6 separate regions of the Homo sapiens genome follow, and regions 2, 3, 4, 5 and 6 are each linked to region 1. The links are contacts of gene promoters, found by promoter capture Hi-C in blood cells and fetal thymus (Javierre and others, 2016). All regions are on one chromosome and are shown on one strand. The core of a region is centred on a gene start or on the middle of the fragment in contact, and the rest is flanking DNA. Distances in the headings are between cores, read along the strand shown. Region 1 holds the start of ZNF155 (zinc finger protein 155). Region 2 has its middle 4.7 kb from the start of ZNF345. Region 3 overlaps ZNF529 (zinc finger protein 529). Region 4 overlaps ZNF345 (zinc finger protein 345). Region 5 overlaps ZNF829 (zinc finger protein 829). Region 6 has its middle 31 kb from the start of ZNF829.

Region 1 (3,010 bases), core at 381-2,880:
ACCAAAAATACAAAAAAATTAGCCGGGCATGGTGGCGAGCACCTGTAGTCCCAGCTACTCGGGAGGCTGAGACAGAAGAATGGCATGAACCTGGGAGGCAGAGCTTGCAGTGAGCCGAGATCGCGCCACTGCACTCTAGCCTGGGCGACAGAGCAAGACTCCGTCTCAAAAATAAAATAAAATAAAATAAAATAAAATAAAATAAAATAAAATAAAATAAAATAAAAGCCAGGCAGGCTATGATATTTTGTGACTAAAAAATATTGGTACTGAGAGGTGGGCTTGCTGCTGCAACAAATACCTAAAAATGTAGCAGTCTTTGGAACTATGTAATGGATAGAGTCTAGAAGAGTTTTTACATGTATGCTAGGAAAAGCCTACATTGCCATGAATGGACTGATAAGGACAATTCTGGTTAGCGCTCAGAAATAGAGAATAAGAACTGTAGAGAAAACATCAATCTTGTTAGAGCATACCTAGGTAGTCATGATCAGAATGTTGGTAGAAATATGGACAGTAAAGGCCATTCTGAAGACCTCAGTCAGAAATGTTGAACATGTTATTGGAAGAGAAGAGAGCTTCTTGTTATAAAGGGACAAAGAATTTGGCTGAATTATATTCAGGTGCTAGTGTTTTATGGAAGGTAGAATTTGTGAATGATATAATTGTTTATCTGAATTAATTTCTAATCAAAGTGTTGAAGTTGCTTGAATCATCTTGACTACCCGTAGTGAAAGGCACGAAGTGAGGAATGACTGAAATAATTATTAATTAAAAGGGAAACAGAACTAAAATTTTTAAAAGTTTACAGCCTATCTACTTTGGAAAAAAAAAAAAACAGGAAACCTGAAGAATACAAGGGTATGGTTAAGCAACTAACTAATTCATGAATTTAGTATGGATTGGCCATGTCAACTGAAGCCAGGACCTATTGTCCAAGACAATGGAAGAATGACCCCAAAGGCATTTCACAGATTATGGCAGCTTCTCCTCCCATCACAGGCCCAGAGTGCAAGGACCTGGGGGACAGAAAGGGCCTTTGATGCCAGATATACCCTAATATATTAGGCACAGTTTCCTGCCTACTACGATTGAGCGTGTCAATAAATTTTTATCTCTTGGGAGGGCAGAACAGAGCAAGGATACAGCTGTAACTGGTTTAGAAATAGCAGTCACTCAATTTTCAGAGAAGTGTTCCTCATACTGTGGTTGGCACAGTCACTTTATCTAAAGAAAACCATGAAAAGTATTCTTTTTTAGTTTAGAAAAATTGATATAGAACATGAGACTCCATTTTTTTAAAATAAAAATATAGGTTGATAGGCCAGAATTCACAGGTCCACCTGCCTGAGCCAAAATTCTCACGCCTCCACAGAGCAAATGGACTCCATTTCCCAAGATACCAGCGAAACGCCTGCGGGAGTCTAATTGCCCGGTCGATGCGCAGGAAATTTGGCTCCCGCAGGCGTTTCGCGAGTAGCTTGGGAGGCGTGGGAATTTTGGCCCAGGCAGGAGGACCTGTGAATTCTGGGAAGTGGAGTCCATTTGCTCTGTGGAGTCGTGGGAACTTTGGCTCAGGCAGGCGGATTCGGGGGATTCTGGGAAGTGTAGTCCAGACGCCTGTGGCATCATCGACACTTCCGGTCTCCGAGCAGGACACTGCTACTTAACAAGGTGGTTTGAGCCAAGTATGTGTCTTGCGGGTCTTTGCGAAAGTGAACCAGTTATTAGGGGCGCCTAACGACCTGGGGGGTCAACTAAGGGGGTAAGAAGCCCTGGAGAAGACCTGAGGTTTGGAGATGCGAGGGGTGGGAGGGAAGTTTCGTTGCCGTCGATGGAGCCTTCTGGCGTTGGGGGCTGTACTCAGGTCCACCGGAGGAGTCGTCGGGGGTTCGGGGGGGGCGGGGAAGAACTCTGTCTAGTCTTGTGTGCCTGTTTAGAGGGTTTTCCAGGTGTTTGACCTCGTTCAGTCCGCCTCCCTCCACTCTTAAGTGTGCGACCTCTTTCTCGCGATATAACGTGGGGTGTTACTTAATCTCCCTGTACCTCCCATTGCCGTTTTTTAAATGAGGATTTCAGGACCATCCTGATAGAATTGTTTTAGGAGTTGAAAGTTGTGGTATAAAACAAAGACTTAACAGCTCCTGTCACTTGGTGTCCTGTTAATTTCCCGCGAAGTGGTCAGGTGCCCGGGTGGGGTCAGAGCTCCAGCTGCTCCGGCCCTTCTCTTGGAGCCCGGCAGGGCTCTGGATGATCCCGGACGCCTCTGACCTCTTTTTAGGAAGGCGTGGGTTGCATCCACGTTTCACGAAGGGAGAGGAGCATTTAACTTGTATCCGGGACGGCGACGCAGAGTGTTTGACAGCTTTCTCCTTCCCCAGCCTGACTTTTCTAAAAGAGCTGCAGGGAGGGACTTGGCTACTGAGGACAAAGCTGTCTACACGAGTGGTCTTTGGCTTTTCTCTTTTTAAAAAAAAGTTATTTATTTTGTTAGTCTGTTTTTATTATTGTTATTATTTGAGAATGAGGTTTGCTCTGTCTCCCAGGCTGGAGTGCAGCAGTGGCGCGATCTTGGCTCACTGCAACCTCCGCCTCCTGGGTTCAAGCGATTCTCTGTCCTCAGCTCCGGAGTAGCTGGGATTACAGGCATGCGTCACCATGCCCGGCTAATTTTTGTATTTTTAGTAGAGACGGGGTTTCACCATGTTGGCCAGGCTGGTCTCGAACCTGTGGTCCTAAGTGATCCGCCTGCCTCGGCCTCCCAAAGTGCTGGAATTACAGGTGTGAGCCACCGCGCCGGGCCGGTTTTTTCTTTTACAGAGATGTTCACCTCAACCAAGAGTGTATAGGATGTGTCCTTGGGCATGGGTGTTGATAATAATTAAACCTTAATTGGTAACTTAATTCTAAGGGCTTTATGGAAATAAATACATTTACGCCACACCATGGCTCTGTGGAAAGGTATTGCTCTTTTTCTTTTTTTTTTTTTTTTTTTTTTCCTGAGACGGAG
Region 2 (2,919 bases), core at 314-2,813, 7.1 Mb before region 1:
GAATCCATTGCCATCAGAACACCACTAAAAGAAATACTAGGGCCGGGCGCGGTGGCTCACGCCTGTAATCCCAGCACTTTGGGAGGCCGAGGCGGGCGGATCACGAGGTCAGGAGATCGAGACCATCCCGGCTAAAACGGTGAAACCCCGTCTCTACTAAAAATACAAAAAATTAGCCGGGCGTAGTGGCGGGCGCCTGTAGTCCCAGCTACTTGGGAGGCTGAGGCAGGAGAATGGCGTGAACCCGGGAGGCGGAGCTTGCAGTGAGCTGAGATCCCGCCACTGCACTCCAGCCTGGGCGACAGAGCGAGACTCCGTCTCAAAAAAAAAAAAAAAAAAAAAAAAAAAGAAATACTAAATGGAGTTTTTCGAGAAGAACAAGATCTCAGATGAAACAGAAAGAAATTTAGGCCAGGCACAGTGGCTAATACTAGTAATCCCAGCAATCTGGGAGGCCAAGGTGGAGGTTCATTTGCATCTAGGAGTTCAAGACCAGCCTGAGCAATATAGCAAGACTTTGCCTCTACAAAAAATCAAAAATTAGCTGGGCGTGGTGGCGCACACCTGCGGTTCCAGCTACTCAGGAGGCTGAGGTAGGAGGATCACTTGAGCCTGGGAGGTCGAGGCTGCAGTGAGCCATGATCATGCCACTGCACTCAACCTGGGTGACAGAGTCCCTGTTTCCAAAAAAAAAAAAAATTAGTAGGGAAAGAATAGCAATAGAAAGAGTAAGTATGTGAATATAAATGAATATTGACTGCACAAAGTAATATACTGCCCTCTGGGGTTTTGAATGTATGCAGAATTAAATAACAAAAATAAAGCAAAAATGAGGATGGAGGTAAATGGAGTTAAAGTGTCCCAAGGTCCTCTAGCAGTATTGGGGAAATGGTAAAGTCAATAATTTGTCCTAGACTAAAAGAAAGAGGAATGCTGTAATCTTTCAGGTAATCACTAAAAGATTTTTAAAAACATGTACAACAAATTGACAGAAAAAATGGATCCACCTTTGGCTTTGCAGAAAATGACAGTGCAATATGACAGCACAAAGATTTATAAAGAACCTAGATTCTTTTTTTTTTTTTGAGGGGGGTGGTGGGAGACGGAGTTTCACTCTTGTTGCCCAGGCTGGAGTGCAATGGCATGATCTCGGCTCACTGCAACCTCTGCCTCCCGGGTTCAAGCGATTCTCCTGCCTCAGCCTACCCAGTAGCTGGGATTACAGGAATGCACCACCACACTTGGCTAATTTTTGTATTTTTATCAGAGACGGCGTTTCACCATGTTGGCCAGGATGATCTCGAACTCCTGACCTCAGGTGATACGCCCATCTTGGCCTCCCAAAGTGCTTGGATTACAGGCATGAGCCACCACACCTGGCCCCAATCTTATCTTTATCTGGAATATGATATATTTCATTTACACATTCATTGTCCACTTCCCCAACTAGAATGGTATACTCTGTGAGGACAGGAAATCTTGGCTGTTCTGTTCACTGATATTTTCCTAGTGCCTAGAATAGCACCTGGCACAGATAAGGAGCTCAATGAGGCCAGGCGCAGTGGCTCACGCCTGTAGTCCCAGCACTTTGGGAGGACGATGCGGGCAGATCACAAGATCACGAGGTCAGGAGATCGAGACCATCCTGGCTAACACAGTGAAACCCTGTCTCTACTAAAAATACAAAAATTAGCCGGGCATGGTGGCAGGCGCCTGCAGTCCCAGCTACTCGGGAGGCTGAGGCAGAAGAATTCTTGAACCCGGGAAGCGGAGGTTGCAGTGAGCCGAGACAGTGCCACTGCACTCCAGCCTGGGCGACAGAGCGAGACTCCGTCTCAAAAAAAAAAAGAGCTCAATGAATATCTGCTGAATGAAGAAATACAATGGTTGACAGGAACAGGAAATAGGAACTTTCATACATTTCTGGTTGGAATAAAAATTAGTTCACCATTTGTGGAAGGTAAATACTTACATAGCCTCTGTGTTCTAACTGCATTTCCTTAGATTCTCTATTAGTCTATTTGGCACTCGTTCATCAAGAGGCCAATTATATTAACTATATTTTCTTATTTTCTGTATTCTTGATGCTCTGGCATTTGGGGACCTTACCAAAAACAGGGAGAGGCTGCTCCTCTCAGGGCTAATTCCTAAAGATAATCACAGTTTTCCAATGAGCACAGCTTACATATGCAAACCAACCAATCCTGAGTCTATACCTCTCTGATATTGTGATGTAATAAGAAATATGTATTTTGGTCTTTATCCATGCCCATGGTTCTTGGTTCATGGGTCCTAAAACCCTTGTAGTTTCCTAAACAGAGTATTTTCTGTTAAAACACTTGTTCTTAGCCAAGTGCGGTGGCTCACACCTGTAATCCCAGCACTTTGAGAGGCCAAGGCAGGCAGATCATGAGGTTAGGAGTTCAAGACCAGCCTGGCCAACATGGTGAAACCCTGTCTTTACTAAAAATACAAAAATTAGCCGGGTGTGGTGGCGCACATCTGTAATCCCAGCTACTCGGGAGGCTGAGGCAGAATTGCTTGAACCCGGGAGGCAGTGGTTGCAGTGAGCCGAGATTGCGCCACTGCACTCCAGCCTGGGCAATACAGTAAGACTTTGTCTTGGGAAAAAAAACAAAACAAAAAACAAAACAAAAACACTTGTTCTTTTGTCCTTGGTTATGTTCTGAATGTGTTCCCCAAAATTTATATAGTGAAACTTAATCGCCAATGTGTTAGATTAAGAAGTGGAGCCCTTCACGCCTGTAATCCCAGCACTTTGGGAGGCCGAGGCGGGTGGATCACCTGAGGTCAGGAGTTCGAGACAAGCCTGGACAACATGGTGAAACCCCGTCTCTACTAAAAATACAAAAATTAGCCGGGATTGGTGGCATGTGCCTGTAATCCCAGCTACTTGGG
Region 3 (2,802 bases), core at 79-2,578, 7.4 Mb before region 1:
TAATCCCAGTTACTCGGGAGGCTGAGGCAGAACAATCACATGAACCCAGGAGGCAGAGGTTGCGGTGAGCCGAGATCACGCCATTGTACTCCAGCCTGGGCAACAAGAGCGAAACTCCGTCTCAAAAAAAAAAAAAAAAAAAAAAAAGAGAAGCAAGCCAGTTTTATGTAATTATAAAAGACAGTATACATATATATCTCTTCTCCTCTTAACTGATATACAAATTTTATGAAACGTGTACTTATGTATTTATTGGGCCCATAACATACAGAAATGTAATATATTTGCTAATAATAACACAAGGCAGGGGAAAGCAAAGTTGTACTGGGCTAAGGAAATGAATCCAGATGGTAACTCGAATCCATCTGGACCAAATGAGGAGAACCCAAAGTGAGAAATCAGATTGATAAAATAAAAGTTATAAATGTATAAAGGTTCTCCTTTCTTCTCATTTTTTTTTAAAAACATAGACTTATATAAGGTAAAAATTACAACAACGATTGGTTGAGTTTGAAACATCTGTAGATATAATGTGAAGACCAATATTACTATAAGAGAAGATGAAAGGAAATAAGAGTTATATAGGAGTAAATTTCTCTATCTCACTTGAATTAAGCCAATATAAATCAGAAGCTGTTTCTGAAGTAAGATATTTGGCAGAATAAATCTCTAAGCAGCAAAGTGTTCAGGGTGCTGCTCGGCTTCTCTTAACTACTCAGAGTAAAATGTGAGAAGAAACAATACAAAGATGGGATTTATAACACGGAAGCAAAATATAGAGATTTGAAAATTCTCAGCCTAAGCATGTAAATAAAAAGGTATTTAGGAAAGTAAACCAAGGGTGTGACCAAGTGACTTTCTGATCAGAGTGTGGCTAGAAAGAAGCCAGGTGTTTTCATCATGACAATAGGAGAATGAACCCAATGGCACTTCAGAGAGCTTCAAGGCTGCTCCTCCCATCACAGGCCCACAGTGCGAGGGCCTTGAAGGCAGGATGGTTTCCAGGGAAGGGCGTAGAACACTCATGGAACTTTGGGGCTTGCTGCCCGGGGCTGCCTCAAGTCTCTGCTCCCCACATCCCGGCACAGTGCTCCTTGGCTGCCGTAGTTGTGGCTCCAGTGGGCCCAGGTGCAGTTTAGTCCCTGCTCTGGAGGGCAAAGTGGTGAACCTCAGCATCCACATGGTACTGATTTTGCAAGTGTGCAGAGTGCACAAGATGTGGAAGCATGGCATCCTTCAAAGAGATTTCTTTTTTTTTTTTTTTTTGAGACAGACTCTCACTGTATTGCCCAAGCTGGAGTGCAGTGGTGCGATCTTGGCTCACTGCAACCTCCGCCTCCCCGGCTCAAGCAATTCTTTTGTCTCAGCCTCCCAAATAGCTGGGATTACAGGCACGTGATGCCTTGGAGAGCCTCAGGGCCTAGACAGAGACCTACTACAGAGGCAGAGCCACTGCAGACAGTCCCCCCTAGGGCATTGTCCAGTGGAGTCATACAGGCTGTGCCACTCCCCAAACCCTAGACCTGTAGAGCCAGCAGCATGCAACATGGGCCTGGGAGAGAGCCAGTGGCACCTGACTGCAACCTATGAGAGCTGCAGTATGAACTGTGCACACCAAAGCCATGGTGGCAGGGACCCTTCGGGCCTTTGGGGTCCAACCCCCATCCCAGTGTGTCTGGAACATGCGACAAGGAGTCAAAGATGATTATTCTCCAGGCTAAAGGTTTATTGTTGTTTGCCCTGTTCAGTTTTGGACCTACTTGAGACCAGTGACCCATACTTTCTTATTTATCTGTTTTGGAATAGAAATGTCTGTCCTGGCCGGGTGCAGTGGCTCATGCCTATAATCCCAGCACTCTGGGAGGCCAAGGCAGGTGGATCATCTGAGGTGGGGAGTTCAAGACCAGCCTGACCAACATGGAGAAACCCCATCTCTACTAAAAATACAAAAAAATTAGCCAGGAATGGTGGTGCATGCCTGTAATCCCAGCTACTCGGGAGGCTGAGGTAGGAGAATCGCTTGAACCTGGGAGGCGGAGGTTGCGGTGAGCCGAGATCGCACCATTGCACTGCAGCCCAGGGGAAAAAAAAAAAGAAATGTCTGCCTTATTCCATTATTATTCCATTGTAGCTTGGAAGCACGTAACTAGTTTGGTTTCACAGGTACAGGACTAGAGAGCAATTTGCCTCAGGATGAATCACATGATTTAGATAATACCTAGATGAGACTCTGCCCTTTAAGTTGACTTTAAAGTTTATGCTGAAATGAGTTTTAATACTTTGGGGGCTATTGGAGTGAAATGAATGTATTTTGTACATGAGAAAGACATGAATATAGGGGGGGTCCAGGGGCAGAATGTAACATGTCCTCTCCAAAATTCAGGTGTTGCCAATGTGATAGTATTAGAAGGTGGAGCCTGGCCGGGCGCGGTGGCTCATGCCTGTAATCCTAGCACTTTGGGAGGCCGAGGTGGGCGGATCACGAGGTCAGGAAATCGAGACCATCCTGGCTAACAGGGTGAAACCCCGTCTCTACTAAAAAACTACAAAAAAATAGCCGGGCGTGGTGGCAGGTGCCTGTAGTCCCAGCTACTCAGGAGGCTGAGGCAGGAGAATGGCAGGAACCTGGGAGGCGGAGCTTGCAGTGAGCTGAGATTGTGCCCTCCAGCCTGGGCGACAGAGCAACACTCTGTCTCCAGAAAAAAAAAAAAAAAAAGAAGGTGGAGCCTTTAAGAGGTGATGAGGGGCTCCTCCCTTTGTGAATGGGATTACAGCCTTCATAAAAGAGGCTCAATGCAGACT
Region 4 (2,789 bases), core at 30-2,529, 7.1 Mb before region 1:
TATTGTGCAACTATTGATTCTCTCTAGTTTTAAACCTTTTTCATCTGCCTCTAGAAATACCCTGTACCCAATTGAAGCACAAACTTTTAACTTGGATGAATTTAAATTGATGTATTCTTTTCTTTCATTGCTTGTGCTTTAGGTGTTAAATTTAAGAATTAATTGCCAAATCTGAGGTCATGAAGAATTAGAAATTCTGTTTTTTTGAAAGAATTTTATGATTTAGCACTTCTGTTTAGGTTGTTGATCCATCTTGAGCTCACATTTTATATTTGCATGTGTTTATCCAGTTGTCCCAATACCATTTGTTGAAGAGACATTTCTTTCTCCATTCAGTGGACTTACTATCCTTCTGGGAAATCTATTAGTCATAGATGTTTGGGTTTATTTCTGGATTTTCAGTTTTATTCCATTAGTTTACAAGTCTGTTCTTAGGCCAGTCCTATTGATTACTGTAGCTTTGTAGTAGTAAGTTTTACAATTGTAAGAAGAGAGTCCTACCTTTTCATTTTCAATACACATTGCAGTTCCATATGGATTTTGGGTACCAATTGCAGTTCCATATGGATATGAGGAGTGGCTTTTTTTTTTTTTTTTTTGAGTCAGAGTCTTGCTGTGTCGCCCAGGCTAGAGTGCAGTGGTGAAATCTCTGCTCACTGCAACCTCTGCTTCCTGCGTTCCAAAAATTCTCCTGCCTCAGGCTCCCGAGTAGCTGGGATTACAGGTGCGTGCCACCACGCCCAGCTAATTTTTTTTACTTTTAGTAGAGACAGGGTTTTACCACATTGGCCAAGCTAGTCTCAAACTCCTGACCTTGTGATCCACCCGCCTTGGCCTCCCAAAGTGCTGGGATTACAGGCGTGAGCCACCGCGCCCGGCCTTGAGTTCACATTTTATATTTGCATGTGTTTATCCAGTTGTCTCAATACCATTTTTTGAAGAGACATTTCTTTCTCCATTCAGTGGACTTAACTGGCCTTCTGGGAAATCTATTAGTCATAGATGTTTGGGTTTATTTCTGGATTTTCAGTTTTATTCCATTAGTTTACAAGGCTGTTCTTAGGCCAGTCCTTTTGATTACTGTAGCTTTATAATAGTAAGTTTTACAATTGGAAGAAGTGAGTCCTACTTTTTCATTTTCAATACACATTACAGTTCCATATGATTTTGGGTACCCATTGCAGTTCCACATGGATATGAGGAGTGGCTTTTTTTTTTTTTTTGAGATGGAGTCTTGCTCTGTTGCCCAGGCTGGAGTGCAGTGGTGGAGCTCGGCTCACTGCAACCTCCGCTTCCTGGGTTCTAACAATTCTCCTGCCTCAGGCTCCCGAGTAGCTGGGATTACAGGTGCGTGCCACCACGCCCAGCTAATTTTTTTACTTTTAGTAGAGACAGGGTTTCACCATGTTGGCCAAGCTAGTCTCAAACTCCTGACCTCGTGATCCACCCGCCTCAGCCTCCCAAACTGCTGGGATTACCGCCCCGCCTGGCTTTTCATTTCAAAGGCCACTGAAGTGTTAATAGAGATTGTATTGAATCTGCAGATTATTTTAGCGAGTATTGCCATCTTCATGTTAAGTCTTCTAATCCATGAACATGGGATTTTAATCTATTTAATCTCCAACTGATGTACTGCAATTCAGTTCTGGTACTAGCTGCCCAGAGTTAGTGTCAGACTCCATAGGTTTTAGCATACAGTCCCCAGTAAATCTGCCCTTACTTTAGGCCAACTAGCTACAATTCCAGGAAGTTCCCATGACTCCCTCCCCCTCCCCCCTTCATTTAGTAATTTACTACAACTCACAGAATTCAGGAAAGCACTACACTTAAAATTATAGTTTTATTATGAAAGATAAGGATACAAATTAGGAACAGCACAGTAAAGAGACACATAGAGCAAGGTCTGAAAGGGACCTATACACAGTTTCTATGCCCTTTCCTGGTGAAAGCAGGGTGTGTCACCCTCCAAACACATTGATATGTTCACCAGTAAGGAAGCCCCACTGAACTTTGGGGTGGAATTTCATTATGTAGGCATGATTGATTAATCATTGGCCACATGACTGAACTCAGTCTCCAGCCCCACTTTCTTCCTCAGAGACTGGCTAGCTAAAAGTATTTTTGATGACTGCCCCAATTCTGAAGCTACTCGGGTCCACCATGAGTTACCTCATTAGCATAAACTCAGGTGTGATCCATAGCAAAGACATGTCTAGCTCTGTGCTAGGAACCCTAGGACAAAGACCTGACAAATTATTACACAGGGCATAAACAAGACCAGGAGTGAATATGGCAGTGTTTTCTTATTTATTTAGTGGTTTCTTTTCTCTTGGATCATTTAGCTTTTTTTTTTTTTTTGAGACTGAGTCTTGCTCTGTCGCCCCGGCTGGAATGCAGTAGCGTGATCTCGGCTCACTGCAAGCTCTACCTCCTGGGTTCAAGCAGTTCTCCTGCCTCAGCATCCCAAGTAGCTGGGATTACAGGCACATGCCACCACGCCTGGTGTGCCACCATGCCTGACTAACTGTTTTGTATTTTTAATAGAGACAGGGTTTCACCATGTGGGCCAGGCTGGTTTCGAACTCCTGACCTCAAGTGAGCCGCCCACCTTGGCCTCCCAAAGTGCTGGGATTACAGACTTGAGCCACTGCACCCAGCCCATTTAGTTTTTTATTAATGATTTGAGAAAGATCTTATATTTTACCTGCTAGTTCTTTGACAGTTAAATGTTTTGTAAATATCATCACCCATTCTGTGGCTTGCGTCTTTTTAACAGATTTTATTCATAA
Region 5 (2,767 bases), core at 206-2,705, 7.1 Mb before region 1:
GTGATGGTTATACAACTCTATTACATTAAAAATCACTGAATTGTACATTTTATGTGGGTGAACTATATGGTATGTGAATTATACCTTAATAAAGCTGAAAATAAAACAACAAAATTAAAGGAGTGCTACTCTGGTTCATAGCGAGCAGGGGTTGGGCAACTTTTTAAATAAAGAATAAGATAGCAAATATTTTCAGCTTTGTGGGCTATCCAAGTGTGTGATTGTAGTGCAAAGACAGTCACAGAAAACTTCTAGTAGTTTGAATGTGCTAGCCTTAAAAAATAAACAAGTCTTTCCAACTTGGATCCGGCAGAATGGCTCCCACAAAGAAGGGTGGTGAGAAGAAAAAGGGCCGTTCTGCCATCCACAAGGTGGTGACCTGAGAATACACCATCAGTATGCACAAGCGCATCCATGGAGTGGGCTTCAAGAAGCGTGCCCCTCGGACACTCAAAGAGATTCAGAAATTTGCCATGAAGGAGATGGGAACTCCAGATGTGCGCACTGATACCAGGCTCAACAAAGCTGTCTGGGCCAAAGGAATAAGGAATGTCCCATAACGAATCCATGTGCGGTTGTCCAGAATACGTAATGGGGATGAAGATTCACCAAATAAACTCTATACTTTGGTTATCTATGTATCTGTTACCACTTTCAAAAATCTACAGACAGTCAATGTGGATGAGAACTAATCACTGATTGTCAAATACATCAAATAGTTATAAAATTGCAAAAAAAAAAGAAAAAAAAAAACAAGTACCCCCCCGCACCCCGCAAAAATAACCCCACAACCTCACAAGAACTGCTAGCTCAAAAACAGAAATTTTTAAAAAGACTGGCTTAATAATTCTGGTTTAAAAATAGCTATACATCTTCCTCCTGATTTTATCAGTGCAAAATGTAAATTTTAAGATTATAAAAACTAGGCCGGGTGCTGTGGCTCACGCCTGTAATCCCAGCACTTTGGGAGGCAAAGGCAGGCGGATTACTTTAGCTTAGGAGTTCGAGACCAGCCTGGGTAACATGGCAAAATCCCATCTCTACAAAAAATACAAAAATTAGCCGGTCATGGTGCCGTGCACCTGTAGTCCCAGCTACTAGGGAGACTGAGGTGGGAGGGTCACTTAAGCCTGGGAGAGGCGGGTGTGGTGGAGGTTGTAGTGAGCCAAGATGCACCACTGCACTCCAGCCTGGGCAACAGAGCCAGACTCTGTCTCAAAATAAAATAAAATAAAATAAAATAAAATAATAAAAACTATACAATTATGTGTTAAACCAAATCAAATTATAGTTCTGTCAGACTTTTTGACATCCAAGTAACTGTTGGGCCGGGTGCAGTGGCTCACGCCTATAATCCCAGCACTTTGGGAGGCCAAGGCGGGTGGATTACTTGAGGTGAGGAGTTAGAGACCAACCTGGGCAACATGGTGAAACCCCGTCTCTACTAAAAATACAAAAATTAGCTGGACATGGTGGCGCACGCCTGTAATCCCAGCTACTTGGGAAGCTGAGGCAGGAGAATCGCTTGAACCCGGGAGGCGGAGGTTGTAGTGAGCCGAGATCACGCCATTGCACTCCAGCCTGGGCGACAGAGCGAATCTCCATCTCAAAAATAAAAAAGAAGAAGAAGAAAAAAAGTAACTGTGTTGCTCTGTAGTGTGTCAGTTTAAATACAGTAGTCAAGATTTTTAGTCAACTTCAAGAAAATGGACATTAAGTAAGAAAAATTAATAGATAATCCTCGAAAACCTGGATGATTTCTAACATAAGGTATTAAAACATTGATTTCTAAGAATAGTTTTAACAAATATGCCATTATTATTTAATATGTATGCCTTGTTTTTTATGTTAGAGGATGGCTATACCTTTGGGTAATATAAATAAATACATGTGGTTTTGTTTTGTTTTGTTTTTGGGTCAAGGGTAATTTTAGTTATAGTATGTGCAGGGCACAAATGTGCAAAAGGGCATTTCTGTCCTTTTTATAAAGGCTTATAAGGAATGTGGGTGGCTATTGGGGGAGTGGTATCACATGTCAGGAGTCTGTTAAAATGTTTATATATCACAGTTCTCAATTACCTACCTCCCACATCTTTCTTTATAATTTGAGTAGTTGAGACTATCTGGGAATAATCATAACAGAAATGTAATAGATATGCTTTTGTTATCAAGGAAATTATAGGTTGGGCACGGCGGCTCAGACCTGTAATCCCAGCACTTTGGGAGGCCAAGGTGGGTGGAACACCTGAAGTCAGGAATTCGAGACCATCCTGGCCAACATGGGGAAACCTCGTCTCTACTAAAAATAAAAAAATTAGCCGGGCATGGTGGCAGGTGCCTCTAATCCCAGCTACTCGGGAGGCTGAAGCAGAGGTTGCAGTGAGCTGAGGTTGCACCACTGCACTCCAGCCTGGGCAACAAGAGTAAAACTGTCTCGAAAAAAAAAATAACAATAGTTTTGTCTTAAAAAAACCAATTGTTCCAAAATGTAAAACTGATACATAAAAAAGACATCTCAGTTTTGATGGGTTTATTTTCAATCCAGTATTTGAACTTGGGAAGAATATGTAAAAACACTCCTAAGTGACTATTATTAAGCAAAGATATGAAAATAGAAAGTACAAACTACAATACAAATAAACATAAGGCATAACACCAATGGGGATGCACATTAAGTAGGTAACAGGAAAGTTATAACAACATTTGTGTAATCAGGATATAAACTATGAATATATTGCTATAGGCAAGATACATACAGTGATTACGA
Region 6 (2,802 bases), core at 36-2,535, 7.1 Mb before region 1:
GCCCAGCTAAATTTTTGTACTTTTAGTAGAGACGAGGTTTCACCATGTTGGTCTTGAACTCCTGACCACAAGTGATCTGCCCACCTCAGCCTCCCAAAGTGCTGGGATTACAGGCATGAGCCACCGCACCTGGCCTATGATTACAACCTTATTATAGTGAAAGGATACAAATTACAACTAGCCAGAGGAAGAGACACATAGAATGAAGTCTGAGAGGGGTCCAAAGATGAGTCTTCTGGTCATCCTATCCCTATGGAGTCCTGGATGGCATTACCTCCTTCCAGCTACAATGTGTACTGATAAGTGTTGCAATCCAGGGAAGCTCACCTTAGCCTTTGGTTTCCAGTGTTTTTCTTGGGGTTTGATAATATACTGCCCACATAGCTGACCTTTGTCTTTCTGCCCTTCTTGCTGGTTTGTCTAATACTGTTTGTCTGCCATTTCCCCAGAAGTCAAAACTGAGATAGCATGCCTCAAAGCACTCATCATAAATCATGTTATACTGTCGGGTGGCCATCCAAAGCACCCAGCCAAACCAAGACACTGTTATTGGGCAGGACATTCCAGAGGCCTAGAGTACCCCCAGTGGGCCTCCCAGTACCCAAGGTAAAGGCAAGACCTCTCTTTGGGTGAAGTTAATTTATCACTATACAGGAATATACTTTGACTTACTCATTCTTTCGTTGATGGGTATCTGTATTGTTTCTACAACTCTGGGAACCTTCTTATACATGTCTTTATGTAGACATATTTACTCTTTTCTATTGGCAGTATACTTCAGAATGGAATTGCTGAGTCAGAGATAGGCTATATTTAGTAAATGTCAGTTTTCCAAAGTGATTGTGCAAATTTACACTCCCACAAAGAATCTGTAAGGGTTTCATTTGCTGTATGTCCTCTTCACACTTAGTATTGTATAGTCATTCTAATGGGACTATACTAATGTATTAGTTACTAGAATTATATATAGAAATATTATATAACTATTATATAGTTATATAAGTATGTAGAAAGTTACATTTTCACTTCCAATGACTAATAATGTTGAATACCTTTTCATATGCTTGCTTACTAGCTTTTTTGATATCTTGTATGCAGGGTTGGTAAGACTTTGGCCGTTTTAAATGCGTATCGTGTCTTTTCCTTATTGCTTTGTGTGAATTCTTTGTGTATTTTGGATCTGATTTGTTTGCTAGATATGTATGTTGCAAATGCCTTTTGCTTTGTGGCTTGCATTTCCACTCTCTTAAAGGTATGGGTTGATGAATTGGAGTTTTTAATTTTAATGAACTCCTGTTTATCAACCTTTTTCTATATATGGTTAGAACTTTGAGTCTTAAATGTTTGTGTGCGTGTGTGTGTGTGTTTCATGCCTACAAACTTATGAAGGTATTCTCTTTCTTCCCCTAGAGGCTTTATTTCACCACTCACATCTTGCCTGGGATTACAGGTGTGAGCCACCGTGCCTGGCCTATGATTACAACTTTATTATAGTGAAAGGATACATATTTCAACTAGCCACAGGAAGAGACACATAGAATGAAGTCTGAGAGAAGTTTGGTGTACAGTATGAGATTTAGTGGGTCAAGTTTAATTATCAATACTGCTACGGATATCCAAGTTAATCCAGTGTTATGTAATGAAAAGTAAATTCTTTCCCCCCAGTTATATTCCAATTCTACCCGCCTCTCATCACCTTTCCTGATACCATCCTGATCCTAACCATGGTTATGTTACTTAGATGTTTATAATAACCTAATTTGTCTGTTTGTGTAGCTTTCAGGGCGTTCACAACAGCATAGCCACAGTGATTTAGATGATATCACTCCAAGAAAATTTGAGCAACAAATAAAGTGGTATTGGATTATAACCCGAAGTATAAAATAAATATCCATGCATTCATACTGATATGACTATATTATCAGATAAATAACTAAATAAATGGAGAAGAGATAAATCTCCAGTACAGAATTCTAAATAATTTATGTAGATATTCTGCCTTCAGGAAAGTGGAGCATAACCCCGCTCCTTAAGTACGTGCTGTGCATAGTGACTTCCAAAGATGACTGTATGGGAAAAGGGAGAAAAGACTAAATTTACACTGGAGAAACTTGACAAACACTCCCTCACTCAGGTGATCAAGACCAACAAAAAGTCATCATGCTGATAGTATGAATCTTTGATATCTATGAGGAAAATGGCACTTTACCTCTGTGATCTTCCTCCTGCAAACAACCTCAGTCTAATCATGAGAAAAACATCAGTCAGATCTTAGCGGAGGAACATTCTACGCTATACTGACCTCCTCAAAATAGTTAAGGTCATTTAAAATGAGGAAGAGGGCCAGGCCCGCTGGCTCATGCCTATAATCCCAGCACTTTGGGAGGCCGAGGAGGGTGGATCACCTGAGGTCAGGAGTTCGAGACCAGCCTGGCCAACATGGTGAAGCCCCGTCTCTACTAAAAATACAAAAATTAGCTGGGGGCCGGGCGCGGTGGCTCACGCCTGTAATCCCAGCACTTTGGGAGGCCGAGGCGGGCGGATCACGAGGTCAGGAGATCGAGACCATCCTGGCTAACACGGTGAAACCCCGTCTCTACTAAAAAAAAAAAATACAAAAAATTAGCCGGGCGTGGTGGTGGGCGCCTGTAATCCCAGCTACTCGGGAGGCTGAGGCAGGAGAATGGCATGAACCCAAGAGGCGGAGCTTGCAGTGAGCCGGGATAGCGCCACTGCAGTCCAGCTTGGGCGAAAGAGTGAGACTCCGTCTCAAAAAAAAAAAAAAAAAAAATTAGCTGGGGG

The links. The method cuts DNA at HindIII sites, captures the fragments that hold promoters and counts their contacts. A CHiCAGO score of 5 or more calls a contact.
Region 2: a contact is called between a fragment that was not itself captured here and the fragment with the promoter of ZNF155 in region 1, in 1 of 17 cell types (naive CD8 T cells). The highest score is 8.8, in naive CD8 T cells.
Region 3: a fragment that was not itself captured here is called in contact with the fragment with the promoter of ZNF155 in region 1 in 3 of 17 cell types (non-activated CD4 T cells, total CD4 T cells and activated CD4 T cells); the score reaches 6.1 in non-activated CD4 T cells.
Region 4: a fragment that was not itself captured here is called in contact with the fragment with the promoter of ZNF155 in region 1 in 1 of 17 cell types (non-activated CD4 T cells); the score reaches 6.4 in non-activated CD4 T cells.
Region 5: a fragment that was not itself captured here is called in contact with the fragment with the promoter of ZNF155 in region 1 in 1 of 17 cell types (naive CD8 T cells); the score reaches 6.9 in naive CD8 T cells.
Region 6: a fragment that was not itself captured here is called in contact with the fragment with the promoter of ZNF155 in region 1 in 2 of 17 cell types (naive B cells and non-activated CD4 T cells); the score reaches 9.4 in naive B cells.

The regions. Positions count from the first base shown.
Region 1 is chr19:43,982,558-43,985,567 of GRCh38, forward strand. ZNF155 (zinc finger protein 155) reads left to right here and starts at 1,631. Exons shown (of 5, transcript NM_198089.3): 1 at 1,631-1,688. RefSeq lists a silencer at 1,328-1,527. The HindIII fragment of the contact is 8,717 bases long and covers 1-3,010 here.
Region 2 is chr19:36,844,727-36,847,645 of GRCh38, forward strand. It overlaps a transcript of ZNF790 not described here. Among named protein-coding and RNA genes, the nearest start is that of ZNF345, 4.7 kb to the right of the region's middle. The HindIII fragment of the contact is 5,910 bases long and covers 1-2,919 here.
Region 3 is chr19:36,560,135-36,562,936 of GRCh38, forward strand. All of the region lies in intron 2 of ZNF529 (zinc finger protein 529), which reads right to left. Among named protein-coding and RNA genes, the nearest start is that of ZNF529, 12 kb to the right of the region's middle. The HindIII fragment of the contact is 5,321 bases long and covers 1-2,802 here.
Region 4 is chr19:36,867,422-36,870,210 of GRCh38, forward strand. The region is part of intron 2 of ZNF345 (zinc finger protein 345); the gene reads left to right. Among named protein-coding and RNA genes, the nearest start is that of ZNF345, 18 kb to the left of the region's middle. The HindIII fragment of the contact is 6,931 bases long and covers 1-2,789 here.
Region 5 is chr19:36,901,428-36,904,194 of GRCh38, forward strand. All of the region lies in intron 5 of ZNF829 (zinc finger protein 829), which reads right to left. It also overlaps the pseudogene RPL31P61. Among named protein-coding and RNA genes, the nearest start is that of ZNF829, 13 kb to the right of the region's middle. The HindIII fragment of the contact is 3,676 bases long and covers 1-2,767 here.
Region 6 is chr19:36,884,223-36,887,024 of GRCh38, forward strand. It overlaps a transcript of ZNF345 not described here. Among named protein-coding and RNA genes, the nearest start is that of ZNF829, 31 kb to the right of the region's middle. The HindIII fragment of the contact is 3,615 bases long and covers 1-2,802 here.